3 separate regions of the Homo sapiens genome follow, and regions 2 and 3 are each linked to region 1. The links are contacts of gene promoters, found by promoter capture Hi-C in blood cells and fetal thymus (Javierre and others, 2016). All regions are on one chromosome and are shown on one strand. Each heading gives the region's core, a stretch centred on a gene start or on the middle of the fragment in contact. The rest is flanking DNA. Distances are from core to core; before and after follow the strand shown.

Region 1 (4,974 bases), core at 1,420-3,919:
GCATAGTTAGGGCTCTACCCAAGCTATCTTTCATCCTTATCCATGATGGCAGGACGTGCTCTGATAGGCCCCATTTGGATCCCATTGGCACAGCCAGAAGAACTGGAGGCAAGAGGCTGGCCAGAAAGGTTAGCTGAGGCAGAAGGCAGCTCATGGGGGTAGAGTGAGCATAGGAATACCCAGGCCTGGAGCCTGTTCTCCAAAATTGATTTTTCACAGCCCAGAAAACTGTATCCAACACTAAAAAACCAACACGAACAGCACATTTTTGCTACTAACAACATATTCATGATAATTTATTAGAGGATCATTAAACCTAAGTATGCGATCTGGAGCCTTGAACCAAGCAGGTGGCTCTGTCTGCGGATGGAGGAGAGGGAGGGAAATCAAGAATACAGAAGGGAAGGGCAGGGAAGGCAGAGGATGCTGAAGGGGTTGGGGGTGGGTTCTAGAGGGCTTGGTCATGGGAAAACACATGAGACCCCAGGCTTGCATCTGAGGCCTGGTACTGTGACTTCTAGTGTGTGTGTGTGTGTGTGTGTGTGTGTGTGTGTGTGTGTGTGTGTGTGTGTTGGCAGGGGTAGGGGAAATGATTATGTCATTGATATCAAGATTATTATTTTATATATATATATATTTAGAGACAGGGTAACACTCTGTCGCCCAGGTTGAAGTGCAGTGGCGCTATCACAGCTCACTGCAGCCTCAAACTCTTGGGCTCAAGCAGTCCTCCTCCCTCAGCCTCCTGGGTAGCTGGACTACAGGCACTCGCCACCATGTCCAGCTAATTTAAAAAATTTTGTAGAGTCTGGGTCTTGCTATGTTGTCCAGGCTGGTCTCGAACTCCTGACTTCAATCAACCCTCCTGCCTTGGGCTCCCAAAGTGCTGGGATTATAGGCATGAGCCACCATGCCTGGCCAGAATCAAGATTATTGTGCAAGAGTAATTGTCACGTATCTGGGGTCGTGGCTTGTATTACAAGTAATATTTAGCTCTCAATCATCAGGGTTAATGGGGGATTGGAGAGGTGAGAACTGATATACAGAGGGGACTCTGGGCTCATTTTGGGGGGGCTCTGTCCCTCCCTGATCTGGACACTTGCTGCTTACCAGTCAGGAATGCTGTTTTAGGAGCTTCCTATGTGTATATGTGTGCATGTGTGCATGCATGGGCTAGTGTGTGCACACAACCATGTACACATGTGCACATATGTCCACCTGCTTACATGTTTTCTGGATGTGTGTCTGTGTATGTGTGCATGGATCTCCTACCCTTTCCTCTTCCCATCGAGGGAGGGAGCTGGACAGAGGCCAAAGGGTGATGGGGAATCAAGAGCCAGAGAGGAAGAGGCCTGCCTTTTAAAACCCCAGGTGTTCTGGGGAATTCCCTCATGGTGACTTCCTTTCTGATTCCTAAGGCTGCTGTGGTTAGAAATGAAAATGAATTCAGCTCTGGTCCCATCCTTTGGAACCCCCTCTGCACACAGTGGGGGCTTAATAAATACTTGATGATGATGGTTCTGAACCTGGGAAGCCAGCAGCTGTTCCTAGTTCTGACTCTCAGAGCCCCATGGGGCAAATCAGGCAGGGAATGACCATGGGGGAATCTTCAGTCTTCCTGCCAGATCCCCCTGTGACTACACACCCAGCTGTTAGGGAAGGGGCTGGAGCCATGGTCCACTTCACACACCCTGCTTTGGAGAGGCCAGTTCTTCCTCAGCAGCTTCTCTTTTGTTTTCCCCAACTAACATTTGAACAATATTTATTGAACAACCACTTTGTACTGAATATCATAGTGGAAATGCATCCTGGGAGAAAGTATCTGATCTGTGGGGTCAGACTGACTAAGTTCAAATCCCAGCATCTTTAATTACAAGCGGGATGACATCTGACAAGTTACATATCTATGTTTGAGCGTTTGAGTGTTTTTTCCACTTTCCTTTCTCTCCTTCTTCTCCTTCTCCTTCTTCTTCTTCTTCTTCCAATTTTCATCTGTAAAAGGAGAGTGATGACATCATTTTTGTGGGGTTGATGTGAGGGTTGGAAATAACAGAGAGGACCCTGAACACGAGGCGTAGGCACTCAGTCAATGGTAGGTGAGTTTATCCACCGGGTGTTAGAAGGTGTGGATCCCCCCTGCTTCTGTGACCTTGACGTTGTTACTCAACACCTCTAAGCATCAGGCTTTGTAAATGAGACCATACTGCCCACCTCCTTGGGTGTTTGGAGACTGTATCCGGATAATATATGTGAAACAACCTATCGTAAACCCTGGTGGTTAATAAATGTTTGCCTTCCCCTCCGTCTGCCCCCTCATCAGGGTGCACACCTCCCCTCCTTCGGAGGCCCTCTGTCCCTCCTCCCCATCGCCCAGCGTGAGCGAACATCCCTTATCGCCGTGGGCTTAAGGGTTGTGGCCATACCTGTCAGAGGAAAGAGGACAGCGGCTCAGCTCCGGGGTGGGGGAGCAAAAACTACAGTTCCCAGTCCTCGCTGCGCCGCCACTGGGGCCGGAGCCCAGGACGCCAGGCCCCTCCTCTGGGGAGGAGCCTATGCGGGGGGCGGAGCTAGGAGGAGGTTGGAGAGTTAAGCCAAGCCAATGAGACCAGCTGCTAATAAGTGGGCTTGGCTTACAATGTAACAGTGGCAGGAGGAGGCGAGCGAAGCTATTGAGCCAGCGAGGAGTGAAGCTGAGCCTGGCCTCACACGCTCCTAGAGGACCACCTCCTGAGAGAGTTCTTTCACCCCCTCTTCTTTCTCCAAGCTCCCCTCCTGCTCTCCCTCCCTGCCCAATACAATGCATTCTTGAGTGGCAGCGTCTGGACTCCAGGCAGCCCCAGAGAACCGAAGCAAGCCAAAGAGAGGACTGGAGCCAAGATACTGGTGGGGGAGATTGGATGCCTGGCTTTCTTTGAGGACATCTTTGGAGCGAGGGTGGCTTTGGGGTGGGGGCTTGTGCTGCAGGGAATACAGCCAGGCCCCAAGATGGACACTTCTGGGCACTTCCATGACTCGGGGGTGGGGGACTTGGATGAAGACCCCAAGTGCCCCTGTCCATCCTCTGGGGATGAGCAGCAGCAGCAGCAGCAGCAGCAACAGCAGCAGCAGCCACCACCGCCAGCGCCACCAGCAGCCCCCCAGCAGCCCCTGGGACCCTCGCTGCAGCCTCAGCCTCCGCAGCTTCAGCAGCAGCAGCAGCAGCAGCAGCAGCAGCAGCAGCAGCAGCCACCGCATCCCCTGTCTCAGCTCGCCCAACTCCAGAGCCAGCCCGTCCACCCTGGCCTGCTGCACTCCTCTCCCACCGCTTTCAGGGCCCCCCCTTCGTCCAACTCCACCGCCATCCTCCACCCTTCCTCCAGGCAAGGCAGCCAGCTCAATCTCAATGACCACTTGCTTGGCCACTCTCCAAGTTCCACAGCTACAAGTGGGCCTGGCGGAGGCAGCCGGCACCGACAGGCCAGCCCCCTGGTGCACCGGCGGGACAGCAACCCCTTCACGGAGATCGCCATGAGCTCCTGCAAGTATAGCGGTGGGGTCATGAAGCCCCTCAGCCGCCTCAGCGCCTCCCGGAGGAACCTCATCGAGGCCGAGACTGAGGGCCAACCCCTCCAGCTTTTCAGCCCTAGCAACCCCCCGGAGATCGTCATCTCCTCCCGGGAGGACAACCATGCCCACCAGACCCTGCTCCATCACCCTAATGCCACCCACAACCACCAGCATGCCGGCACCACCGCCAGCAGCACCACCTTCCCCAAAGCCAACAAGCGGAAAAACCAAAACATTGGCTATAAGCTGGGACACAGGAGGGCCCTGTTTGAAAAGAGAAAGCGACTGAGTGACTATGCTCTGATTTTTGGGATGTTTGGAATTGTTGTTATGGTGATAGAGACCGAGCTCTCTTGGGGTTTGTACTCAAAGGTAGGGGCTGTGGTTTCTCTTTATACCTTGAACAAAAGGAATATGTAGGTAGCAAGAGAGGGATTGAGAGAGGGGGATTGTGAGAGAGAGAGATTGAGAGAGAGAGAGAGAGAGAGAGAGAGAGAGAGAGATTGAGAGATTGGGAGGGAGACTGGGAGAGAGAGGTGGTGGTGGTGGTGAGAGGCGCTTGCTCAGTTATATTCAACACTCTAACTTCCCGTGGTTTTCCTTCTTGATCCCGGGAGAATTCATTCCTAGCTTCCTCTGGGGGGTAGGGGACATCCCCACACACTGTGTCTAATTTGCAGACTCTCTGTTAGGGAGGATTCAATAATCCCTTCTGAGAAATCGCTTTTCCTCCTGGCTCACTCGTACTAAAGCATAACCCAGCAGCTTAACGCACCAATTAATTACACTCCGCCTTCATGTGTTTGCCAGTTCCTGCGACTTCCCCTTCTTTCCTCCCCTCCCTGCTCCACTCCATTTTCCTGAGGATAAAAAAGAAATAAATGTCTGGGTGGGGGGTGGGGATTCCGTACCATTGCCCAAGTCCCTTCTCTCCCTGTCTTCTCCATCTCTTCCCAAGTTTCTGTTTCCCTCCTCTTCTCAGAGAGTCTCGGGCAAAATAGAAAACCATCCATGACCTGGGTCTCCTGAGGGCATGGGGTAAAAATATAGGTGGAGGAAATCAGTGGTCCTTTCCCTCAGGAGAGAGGACTCAGAATAAACCTGCTGCTGCTTCGTAAACATCTCCTGATAAAAATGGCTACAGGTGTTACCTGGGCAGAGCAGCTGGGCGCCGCCTTGGAATCAGCTGGGGGAGCACCTCTCCTTGGGACGGGATGACAGGGCTTCCCAGGCGGTCCCCACAAGCCCGCGCCCCAGCTCAGCCCCAGTTCTCCCCTCCCACCTCAACTCCTCCTTGGGATAAATAAAGATGAGTGTGTGTGTGAGTGCGCGCCCGGATGGAGAACAGCAGGCACTGGCTTTAGCGGGGAGCTGGCCCCACTGCTCCAGCCTCTCAGTCCAGCCCCAAGACGGAGGAGGGGGTTTCCC
Region 2 (4,974 bases), core at 1,829-4,328, 230 kb after region 1:
GCAGAACCATGAGCCAAATAAACTTCTTTTCTTGATAAATTACTCAACCTTAGGTTAAAGTTCCTTTATAGCAACACAAAATGAAGGAATACAACTGTCCTTCTCCTTCCTCTGCTTGATTTTTCTTTATTATACTACCTGAAATTATATGCTCATTTATTTTTTCTGTCTTTTTCTTCTCCAAACCAAAGTACAATTTTCATCAGGGCAGGTACTCTGACTATTTTTTTCACAGCTGTATCCTCAGCAGGTAAAACTATGCCTAATACATAATGGGGGTTCAATAAATTCTGCTAAATAAATGGAGTGAACAAGACAAGGAAATCACTGCTAAGTTTTACTGTTGATCGCAGACAATGACGTAAGAACGAAAGAGAGCAAAAGCGAAATTGGAAGGGACAAAATAATCACTACTTCTGGACAATATTGTCTACACAGAAACACCAAAAGAATCCATTAAAAATTACGATGACTAATAAGATAATTAAATTAGGTATCTGAGACCAGGTGTGGTGGCTCACGCCTGCAATCATGGCATTTTGGGAGGCTAAGGCAGGAGGATCGCTTGAGCTCAGGTGTTTGAGACAAGCCTGGGCAACATGGTGAAACCCTGTCTCTACCAAAAATACAAAAAATTAAAAATAGCCAGGTGTAGTGGCATATGCCTGTAGTCCCAGCTATTTGGAGGGCTGAGGTGGGAAATCGCTTGAGCCCAGGAGGTGGCGGCCCCCGGAGATTGTGCCACAGCACTCCAGCCTGGGTGACAAAGTGAGACTCTGTCTCAAAAAAAAAAAAAAAAAAAAGGCCAGGAGCGGTGGCTCACGCCTGTAATCCCAGCACTTTGGGAGGCCGAGGCGGGTGGATCATGAGGTCAGGAGATCGAGACCATCCTGGCTAACAAGGTGAAACCCCGTCTCTACTAAAAATACAAAAAATTAGCCAGGCGCGGTGGCGGGCGCCTGTAGTCCCAGCTACTCGGGAGGCTGAGGCAGGAGAATGGCGTGAACCCGGGAAGCGGAGCTTGCAGTGAGCCGAGATTGCGCCACTGCAGTCCACAGTCTGGCCTGGGCGACAGAGCGAGACTCCGTCTCAAAAAAAAAAAAAAAAAAAAAAAAAAAAAAAAAAAAGGTAGCTCAGTAAAAGCCCAACATTCAAAAATGAAAGCAACTTTTATCTATAGAGTCAATGAAATGTCAATTAAAATCTCAACAAGTTATTTTGTGGATATTGGCAAACTGATCCTAAGTTTTACAGAGAGGCCAAAGAACCAGAATAGCTAACACAATATTGAAAGAGAAGAAAAAAGTTGTGTAACTGATATTACCAGACTTCAAGACTTCCTCCCATAATACTTTTTTTTTTTTTTTGAGATGGAGTCTTGCTATGTCCCCCAGGCTGGAGTGCAGTGGCGTCATCTCAGCTCATCGCAACCTCCGCCTCCCCAATTCAAGCAATTCTCCTGCCTCAGCCTCCCAAGTAGGTGGGATTACAGGTGCACACCACCAGGCCCAGCTAATTTTTGTGTTTTTAGTACAGATGAGGTTTCACCATGTTGGCCAGGCTGGTCTCAAACTCCTGACCTCAGGTGATCTGCCCGCCTTGGCCTCCTAAAGTGCTGGGATTATAGGAGTGAGCCACCGCGCCCATAATATTTTAATTAAGAAGTGTGATATCAGCAAAAAAAAAAAAAAAAAAAAAAGCAAATACAGCAGTGGAACAGAATAGAAAACCCAGAAATAGACCCATGTAAATATAGTCAATTGATCTTTGACAAAGAAGCAAAGGCAATGTAATGGGGAAAAGATAGCCTTTTCAACAAATGATACTGGAATATGTGGACATCCATACACACACACAAAATCTAGACACAGACTTAACAAAAATTAACTCAAAATGGACCGTAAACCTAAATACAAAAGGCAGAGCTATAAAAACTTTTAAAACTGTAATACTCCTAGATGATAACATAGGAGAACATCTAGATGACCTAGGGTTTGGCAATGGCTTTTAAGATACATCAGGCCAGGCCTGTAATTACGCTTGTAATCCCAGCACTTTGGGAGGCCAAGGTGGGTGGATCACGAGGTCAGGAGTTTGAGACCAGCCTGGCCAATATGGTGAAACTCCATCTCTACTAAAAATACAAAAATTAGCTGGGTGTGGTGGCGTGTGTCTGTAGTCCCAGCTACTCGGGAGGCTGAGGCAGAAGAATCACTTGAACCCGGGAGGCAGAGGTTGCAGTGAGCCGAGATCGTGCCACTGCACTCTAGTCTGGGTGACAGAGCGAGAATCTGTCTCAAAAAAAAAAAAAATACAACATCAAAGGCACAATCCTTGAAAGAAAGAATTAATAAGCTGGACTTTTGTTGAAATTAAAAACTTCTGCTCTGTGAAAGACACTGTCAAGAGAATAAAGACAGAAACCACACTAGGAGAAAATATTTACAAAAGACATATCTGATGAAGGACTGTTATCCAAAATATACAAAGAACTATTAAAATTAAGTAATAAAAAAGTAAACAACCCAGCTAAAAACTGGACCCTTATTTGATCATTACACATTGTAAACATGTATTGAAATATCACATGTACCTCATTAATATGTACAATTTTTATTATTTTTTTTTTTTTTTTTTGAGACAGAGTCTCATTCTGTTGCCCAGGCTGGAGTGCAGTTGTGTGATCTCGGCTCAAAGCTCCACCTCCCAGGTTCACACCATTCTCCTGCCTCAGCCTCCGGAGTAGCTGGGACTACAGGTACCCACCACCACACCTGGCTAATTTTTTTGTATTTTTAGTAGAGATGGGGTTTCACCATGTTAGCCAGGATGGTCTCAAGCTCCTGACCTCGTGACCCGCCCGTCTCGGCCTCCCAAAGTGCTGGGATTACAGGCGTGAGCCACTGTGCCCAGCCAATATGTACAATTATTATATGTCAATTAAAAATAAAGAAATATAAAAGGGGCCAACGATCTCAACAGACACCTCACCAAAGAAGATATACAAATGGCAAATAAGCATATGAAAAGATGCTGCTCATCGTATCATCAGGGAAATGCAAATTAAAACAAGATACCACTATACCTCTATTAGAACGGCCAAAATCAAGAACGCTGACAATACCAAATACTGACAAGGATGTGGAGCAACAGGAACTTGCATCCATTGCAGGCAGGAATGCAAAATAGTATAGTCACTTTGGAAACAGTGTAGTGGTTTCTTGCAAAACCAAACATTTTCAACACACAATCCAGCACTCACACTCTTTGGTGTTTACCCAAATGAACTGAAATCTTACGTTCACACAAAAATCTGTTCCTATGGTATAAATATGTCCCAAAGTTCATGTGATGGAAATTTCCTCCCCAATGCAGCAGTGTTGAGAGGTGAGACCTTTAAGAGGTGATTCTTATGGACACCATTATCTAAGGAATGGGTTAGTTATCATGGGAGTGGGTTCCTGATAAAAGAATGATTTTGGCCAGATGCAGTGGCTCATGGCTGTAAACTCAGCACTTTGGGAGGCCAAGAAGTGAGGAATTGCTTGAGGCCAGGAGCTCAAGACCAGCCTGGGCAATATAACCCTGTCTCTACAAAAAATTAAAGAAAAAAAAATTGGCAAAAGTGGTGGCATGTGCCTTTAGTCCCAGCTGAGTACTCAGGAAGCTGAGGCAGGAAGATCACCTAAGCCCAGGTGTTAAGGTTATAGTGAGCTATGATTATGCCACTACACTCCAGCCTGGGTGACAGAGCAAAACCCTATCTCTAAAAAAATGAAAATAAAAAATAAAATAAAAAGAATGAGTTTGGCCACCTTTCTCTCTCACTGTTGTGTGTGCCTTCCTGCCCTTTCATCTTCCACCATGAGATGATGCAGCCCTAAAACCCTCATCAGATGCTGATGCCATGTTCTGGAACCTTCCAGCCTCCAGGACCATGAGCCAAATAAACTTATATTGTTTGTAAGTTACCCAGTCTGTAGTAGTCTATTGGAGCAGCAGAAAACAGACTAAGACTCCTGCACACAGATGTTTATAGCAGCTTTATTCATAATTGCCAATATTTGGAAGCAACTAATATATCTTTCAGTAGATAAATAAGTGGACATGTCTATCAGTAGATAAATAAATGGATAAATAAGCTGTGATACATACAGACAAGGGAATATTATTCAACACTAAAAAGAAAGAAGTTATAAAGCCATGAAAAGACATGAAGGCAACTTAAATGCATATTACTAAGTGAAAGAAGCCAATCTGAAAAGTCTACATTCTGTATAATTCCAAATCTATAACATTCTGGAAAAGGCAAAACTATGGAGATGGTAAAAAGGTCAGTGGTTGCTGGAGGTTATTAGTGAGGGAGAGATAAATCCATGGAGCACAAAGGATTTTTAGGGCAGTGAAATGACCTTGTTTGATAACGTAATGGTAATTATGTCATTATACATCTGTCCAAACCCACAGAATGTACAACATCAAAGTGACCCCTGATGTAAACTATGGACTTTGGGTGATAATGATGTGTCAGTGTAGGTTCATTAATTATAGCCAATGTGTTACTCTGGTGGGGGATGTTAATAGGGGGTAGGCTATGCATGTATGGGGGAATGGGGTTTCCCACAGGAAATCTCTGTGCCTTTTGCTCAGTTTTGCTGTGAATCAAAAACTTCTCTAAAAAATAGTCTATGAAGAACAAAAAGGAGGAGGAAGAGGGTGAGGAGGGGGAGGAGGCCTAACTAAACTGAAGGGTGTGCTATAATAATAATTGCAAACAATAGCAAAGTCATGGAATCAACCTAGGTGCCCATCAACAGGGAACTAGATAACAAAAATGTGGTATATATACACCATGGAATACTATGCAGCAATAAAAAAGAACAAAATCATGTCCTTGCAGCAACATGAATGCAACGGTAAGCTATTATCCTAAGTGAATTAACACAAAAACAGAAAATCAAATATTGAATGTTC
Region 3 (4,974 bases), core at 768-3,267, 130 kb after region 1:
GCAAGAGAGCCATGTGTGCAAGGCAAGCTTGGAGCACAGCAACCCTGAAGCGGTGGTCAGAGCATGAAGCCAAGGAGGCACAGTCGAAGGCGGGAGGAAAGCAGGCCAGTGAGCCGCTGCAGATGCCAGAGGAGGGCAGTGTTCCGAGGAGAGAGGCACCGGTGGGGTCAGAGGCCGCCAGGGGGCCAAGCCAGGTACGTGTTGTTGGCTTCCTCATTGGAGAAATTCGCAAGCACAGGGTTCACAGCTCAGTGGGCAGGTCTGACTGTGTGACTCTGAAGATTGACCGGAAGGCAAGGACGAAGCAGTCCATTTGGCTGCTTTGGAGTTCTGCAGAGGATCTGGCTCAATGCCTGCAAATTTCCAACAAACAAATCAGACCCAGGACAAATGGCTAGAGCCGTCATATCATGTAGATCCATGTGAAAAGAATCCTTTTTTTTTTTTTTTTACAAAACTAGTTTTAAAAAGTATTCAAATTCTTTTGGAGAATAAGGAAGAAGAGGCAGTCATTTCACTTTGGCTTATTTTCTGTCACCCTAGTGCTGTAACAGATCACAGCTAGTGTCATGAAGCTGAGTTCTTATTAATAGTGAGAACTGACTCCAAGCTCAAGGAATTTGGCAGCCACCTTGACAAAGGTTTAATCTGCTGAAGAGAACAGCTGAAATCATTTTAACATGATTCACTGAATTACTGAAGCAAGCCTCACTTTTGTAGAGGGACAGGAAAAGCAGCATGCAGGCCTTAGTCAGTCCACAAGTATTTTAGTGAGCCCCTATTATGTGCTAGACCCTCAGAAGGTACCAAGGAAAGGCTACAGAGAATACTGTAATATAACTTCAGGGTTAGACAAATAGACCAATGGAACAGAATAGAGAACCAAGAAATAGTACCACTTCCACATATAATTTATGAGACAGAGGGAGCATTGAAAGCTAGTAGGAGAAAGGATGGTCTGCACATTAAGTGAAACTGAGATAATTGCTTACCCATGTGAAAAAAATGAAGTTGTATCCCTGCCTCACACCATATGCAAAATCAATTCCAGGCAAATTGAAGACTTAGAAAGGCAACATTTTAAAATATGTAAAAATGTTACAATCTCAGGGAGGGAATGATTTCTGCAAAAACCAAATAACTGCTAATTATAAATTAAAGGATGATAAAGTCACCTACAGTAAAATTTAAAACTTCTATTCATCAAAAATACTGTAGAGAAAAAGGCAAGGCACACACTGGAAGAAGATATTTGCAACACACAAACTGACAAAATTCTTATTATCTAGAATATATAAATAACTTTTAGAATCAATGAGAAAAAACAAAAACAAGCCAATAGAAAAGTGGACAAAAGTCATGAATGACACGCCACAGAAGAGAAAGTATGAATGACAAAGAAACATATGAAAGGCTACTTAAGCTTTTATCATGGAAACGTAAAGTCAAGTCTTGATGAGATCCCAATTCACCCACTAGTGTGGCAGAGATTAAAGTCAGACAATGGCAAGTGTTAATGAGGATATGGAGAAACAGGAACTCTTATCCACCTCTGGTGGAAGCCTAATTGGCACTGGCATCTTAGAAAACAACTTGACATTTCCTAATGAAGTGAAATATGTACATATCCTACAAACCAGCAAACCCAGTCTTAGGTATGTGTCCTAGAGAAACTCTTATGCAGTGTACCAGGAGCTATGATTAAGAATGTTTGGGCTGGGTGAGGTGGCTCATGCCTGTAATCCCAACATTTCAGGAGGTCAAGGCAGGAGAATCTCTTGAGCCCAGGAGTTTGAGGCTACAGTAAGCTATGATTGTGCCACTGCAGTCCAGCCTGGGCAACAGAGTAAGACCCTGTCTCTAAAAATACAATAACAATAAGTCAATAAAAAATAATGTTTGTAGCAGTATTTCTCATTAGAGGAAAAACCCGTAAGCTATCCCACTGTCCATCAACAGGTGAATGAATAAATAAATCATGCCATATTCATATGATGAAATACAATACAGGAATAAAAATAGACTATAGCTACATATGTCAATATAATATATATGTTGAACAGAAAAGAAGCAATTCATAGAAGAGTTCACTGTATTAGTTATCTGTTGCTACATAACAACTTGCTCCAAAATTTAGCAGCTAAAAACAGCAGACATTTACCATCTCAGGGTTGCTGTGGGTCAGGAATTCAGGTGCAGCTTAAATGGGTACCTCTGCCTCAAGTTCTCTCATGAGATTGTCAGGCTGTCAGCCAGGGCTGTGGTCTCACCTCAAGGCTTGACTTAAAGAACACCTGCTTCTAAGCTACTCATGTGGTGGTTGGCAGGCTGTGTCCCTTGCCATGTGGCACTCCACGGGCTTGCCTCCCGACATGGCCTGTGGATTCTCCCAGGGAGAGTGATCCAAAAGATAACTAGTGAGAGATCACCCAAGACAGAAGCCATGATCTTACCATAACCTAACTTCAGAAATGAAAGTCTATCACTTCTGCCATACTCTATGTGTTAGAAACCAGTTACTTGGTCCAGCCCACACTCAAAAGGAAAGGATTGCAAAAGTGTGTGAAGACCTCAAGAGGAGGGGGGATATCGAGGTCATTTTAGAAGCTTCCTACCATACTCTTGTGGTATGATTTCATCCTTATGAAGGTCGGAAATAGGAAAAATGAAATTACATATTGCTTAGGTAATCCTGCCTACATGGAAGCACTATGAAGAAAAACGAGGAAATGATAAACATGACATTCAGGGTAATGATGATCCTGGGGTGGGGGGCACTAAGAATGGAGAGAACATACAAGTAGATCCCACAGGTTGGAGCTGGATGGTGAGTTCATGGTGCTTATTTTCTTTCTGTGTTTCTTGATGTCATTTAATGTTGCATGTAGTTTTGTTTTTTCTCTTTGGTTTGGTGTTCTGTTGATATGATCAAAGTTACATGTGCATACACTGTAGAGTCAATCCTTCCGTGGTATTTGCTGTCTTCCACCAGCTCTTCCCATTTACTGTTCTCCAGAGGCAGCTACTTTTACCTTCTTTTGCTAATTAATTTTAGTATTTACCTCCATGTCTGTAAGTAATATGTGTGTATTGCTACCTTTTGATGCTTTGGTTTATTTAGGTATTATCTATTCCCTTCCCACTCTGGGAGATGAAAATTTAGCTCCCTTTCCTCTCCTCCAACTCTTCCTCTCCCTTCATCTTCCTTTTATAATTACATCATAATTTTGGTTAAAGCAGTAATCAGTGTTTACATTACTCAGTCAACACTAATTTGACTCTATTCATAGTTGAGCCTTGTAGTAAAAAATATGATAACTTTTCCCTTCCTGCAGAACTTTTCATTTTTCCTGGAGTTGTTAATGATCGTGTTTGTTTGTTTGCTTAGTTTTCTATGTATTCGTCATTAATGCAAGTGCAAACTCTGGCAGTTGTCTAAACCTCTTTTCAGGATGTTCAGGCACATTAAGTTTCCTATCAATTTCATCTCCTTGGAAGTGTCTCCCAGAGCCTCTTGACCTGCTCCAGCCCGGACGGGTTGTCCTCCGCACCTGGTGAGCACCTGTCCTATGAGGGCCTCCCTGTAGCATCACCCTGAGCTCGTTACCTTTATTCCTTGTCTTCCTCCTTGGTTTACTTCTTTGTTTTGGTGAAGCATACCTCCTGTGTCTTCCTGAGAGAGGGTGCATGGGAGGCAAACCCGTGACAACCTTACGTATCTGAAAATGTCTTCGTTCCACCCTCAGACTGAACTAATACTTTGGCCAATTCAGATTTCTGGTCTCTGGTTTGGAATTCTGATTTGGAAATAATTTTCCTCCAGAATTTTGAAGGCTTTATTCCATGGCCTTCTAGCTTCCAGTGTTGCTGTCAAAAAGTCCGAAGCTGTTGTAATTTCTGGTTCTTTGTATTTGGCCTCTTTTATACCCTCCCCCAAAACCCCTAAAGCTCTGTAGGATTGTCTCCTTTCCCCTGGTGTTCTGAAATTTCACAATAATGTGCCTTGGTGTGCATCTATTTTCATCCACTGTGCTGGGGACAGTGAGCCTTTGATCTAGAAACTCATGCCCTTAAGTTCTGGGGATTTTTGTTTTTGAATGATTTTTAAAATAATTACTTCTCTCCTTCTTTCTCCTTCTTTTCCCCCCAGTTGTTTCTTTCTGTAACTTCTACTGTTTGAATTGGGAGACTGATTCACTAATTTTCTCATATTTTCTTTCCCTCTCTCTCCTTTTAAGAGATGATGGGGGTCTTGCTCTGTCCCCAGGCTGAAGTGCAGGGGCACAATCATAGCTCACTGCAGCCTCAACCTCCTGGGCACGAGCAATCCTCCTGCCTCAGCCTCCGAGCAGCTGGGGGATACAGGCACACACCACAATGCCTAACTTCATATTTTCTTTCATTTTCATTCTTTGTCTTTTTCTGCTTTTTGGGAGAATTCCTCGATTTATCATCTTCCAGCCCCTCTAGGAAGACTTTTTTCATACAGCATTCCATTCTTGTCTCGTGGGTCCAGTATCTTATTTTCTCTCTCTTACGTTAATTATAGGATTTTTCCTTCAAGAGTTCTCTCTGTGAATGGTCTGTATTTGATCCAGAGTTCCTTCTTTTTGTTTGTTTAGTTGACTGGTTTGATCTGTGTCTTTCATGTTAGAGACTCCTGACTGTCTGGGGATTCCTGGTTGCCTGCTTATTTTTAAAAGTAGGAGACTAACAACTTTGAGCTGTAAGGGATTTGAGTGAGCAAAAGTAGACATATGTCTCTACCATCTTTGCCAAGTCATACAGTCTTTTGTATCTCTCATTTATTTCATGTTAAGAAGTGAAAAAAAATCCATAGTCCACACCCTGAAAGATAAATCAGTAACTGTAATAACTACCCTTGAGCTCAAAGAAAAATTACATCTTTTCCTCCTCAGCCTTTAAAGAAAAACATGGAGCTATCCCCCCCCCCCAAATTTTCTATTGCAAAAA

Evidence for each region. Contacts are between HindIII fragments. The CHiCAGO score rates a contact against its expected background, and 5 or more counts as called.
Region 2: a fragment that was not itself captured here is called in contact with the fragment with the promoter of KCNN3 in region 1 in 2 of 17 cell types (M2 macrophages and M0 macrophages); the score reaches 6.2 in M2 macrophages.
Region 3: a contact is called between a fragment that was not itself captured here and the fragment with the promoter of KCNN3 in region 1, in 1 of 17 cell types (endothelial precursors). The highest score is 5.1, in endothelial precursors.

What each region holds. Positions count from the first base shown.
Region 1 is chr1:154,867,976-154,872,949 of GRCh38, reverse strand. KCNN3 (potassium calcium-activated channel subfamily N member 3) reads left to right here and starts at 2,669. Exons shown (of 8, transcript NM_002249.6): 1 at 2,669-3,918. The coding sequence starts at 2,986. RefSeq lists enhancers at 2,800-2,889, 1,962-2,918, 4,326-4,845. The HindIII fragment of the contact is 14,105 bases long and covers 1-4,974 here.
Region 2 is chr1:154,641,639-154,646,612 of GRCh38, reverse strand. No RefSeq gene overlaps it. Among named protein-coding and RNA genes, the nearest start is that of ADAR, 36 kb to the right of the region's middle. The HindIII fragment of the contact is 6,261 bases long and covers 1-4,974 here.
Region 3 is chr1:154,737,188-154,742,161 of GRCh38, reverse strand. The region is part of intron 3 of KCNN3 (potassium calcium-activated channel subfamily N member 3); the gene reads left to right. Among named protein-coding and RNA genes, the nearest start is that of KCNN3, 130 kb to the left of the region's middle. RefSeq lists enhancers at 48-548, 4,602-4,974. The HindIII fragment of the contact is 1,184 bases long and covers 1,426-2,609 here.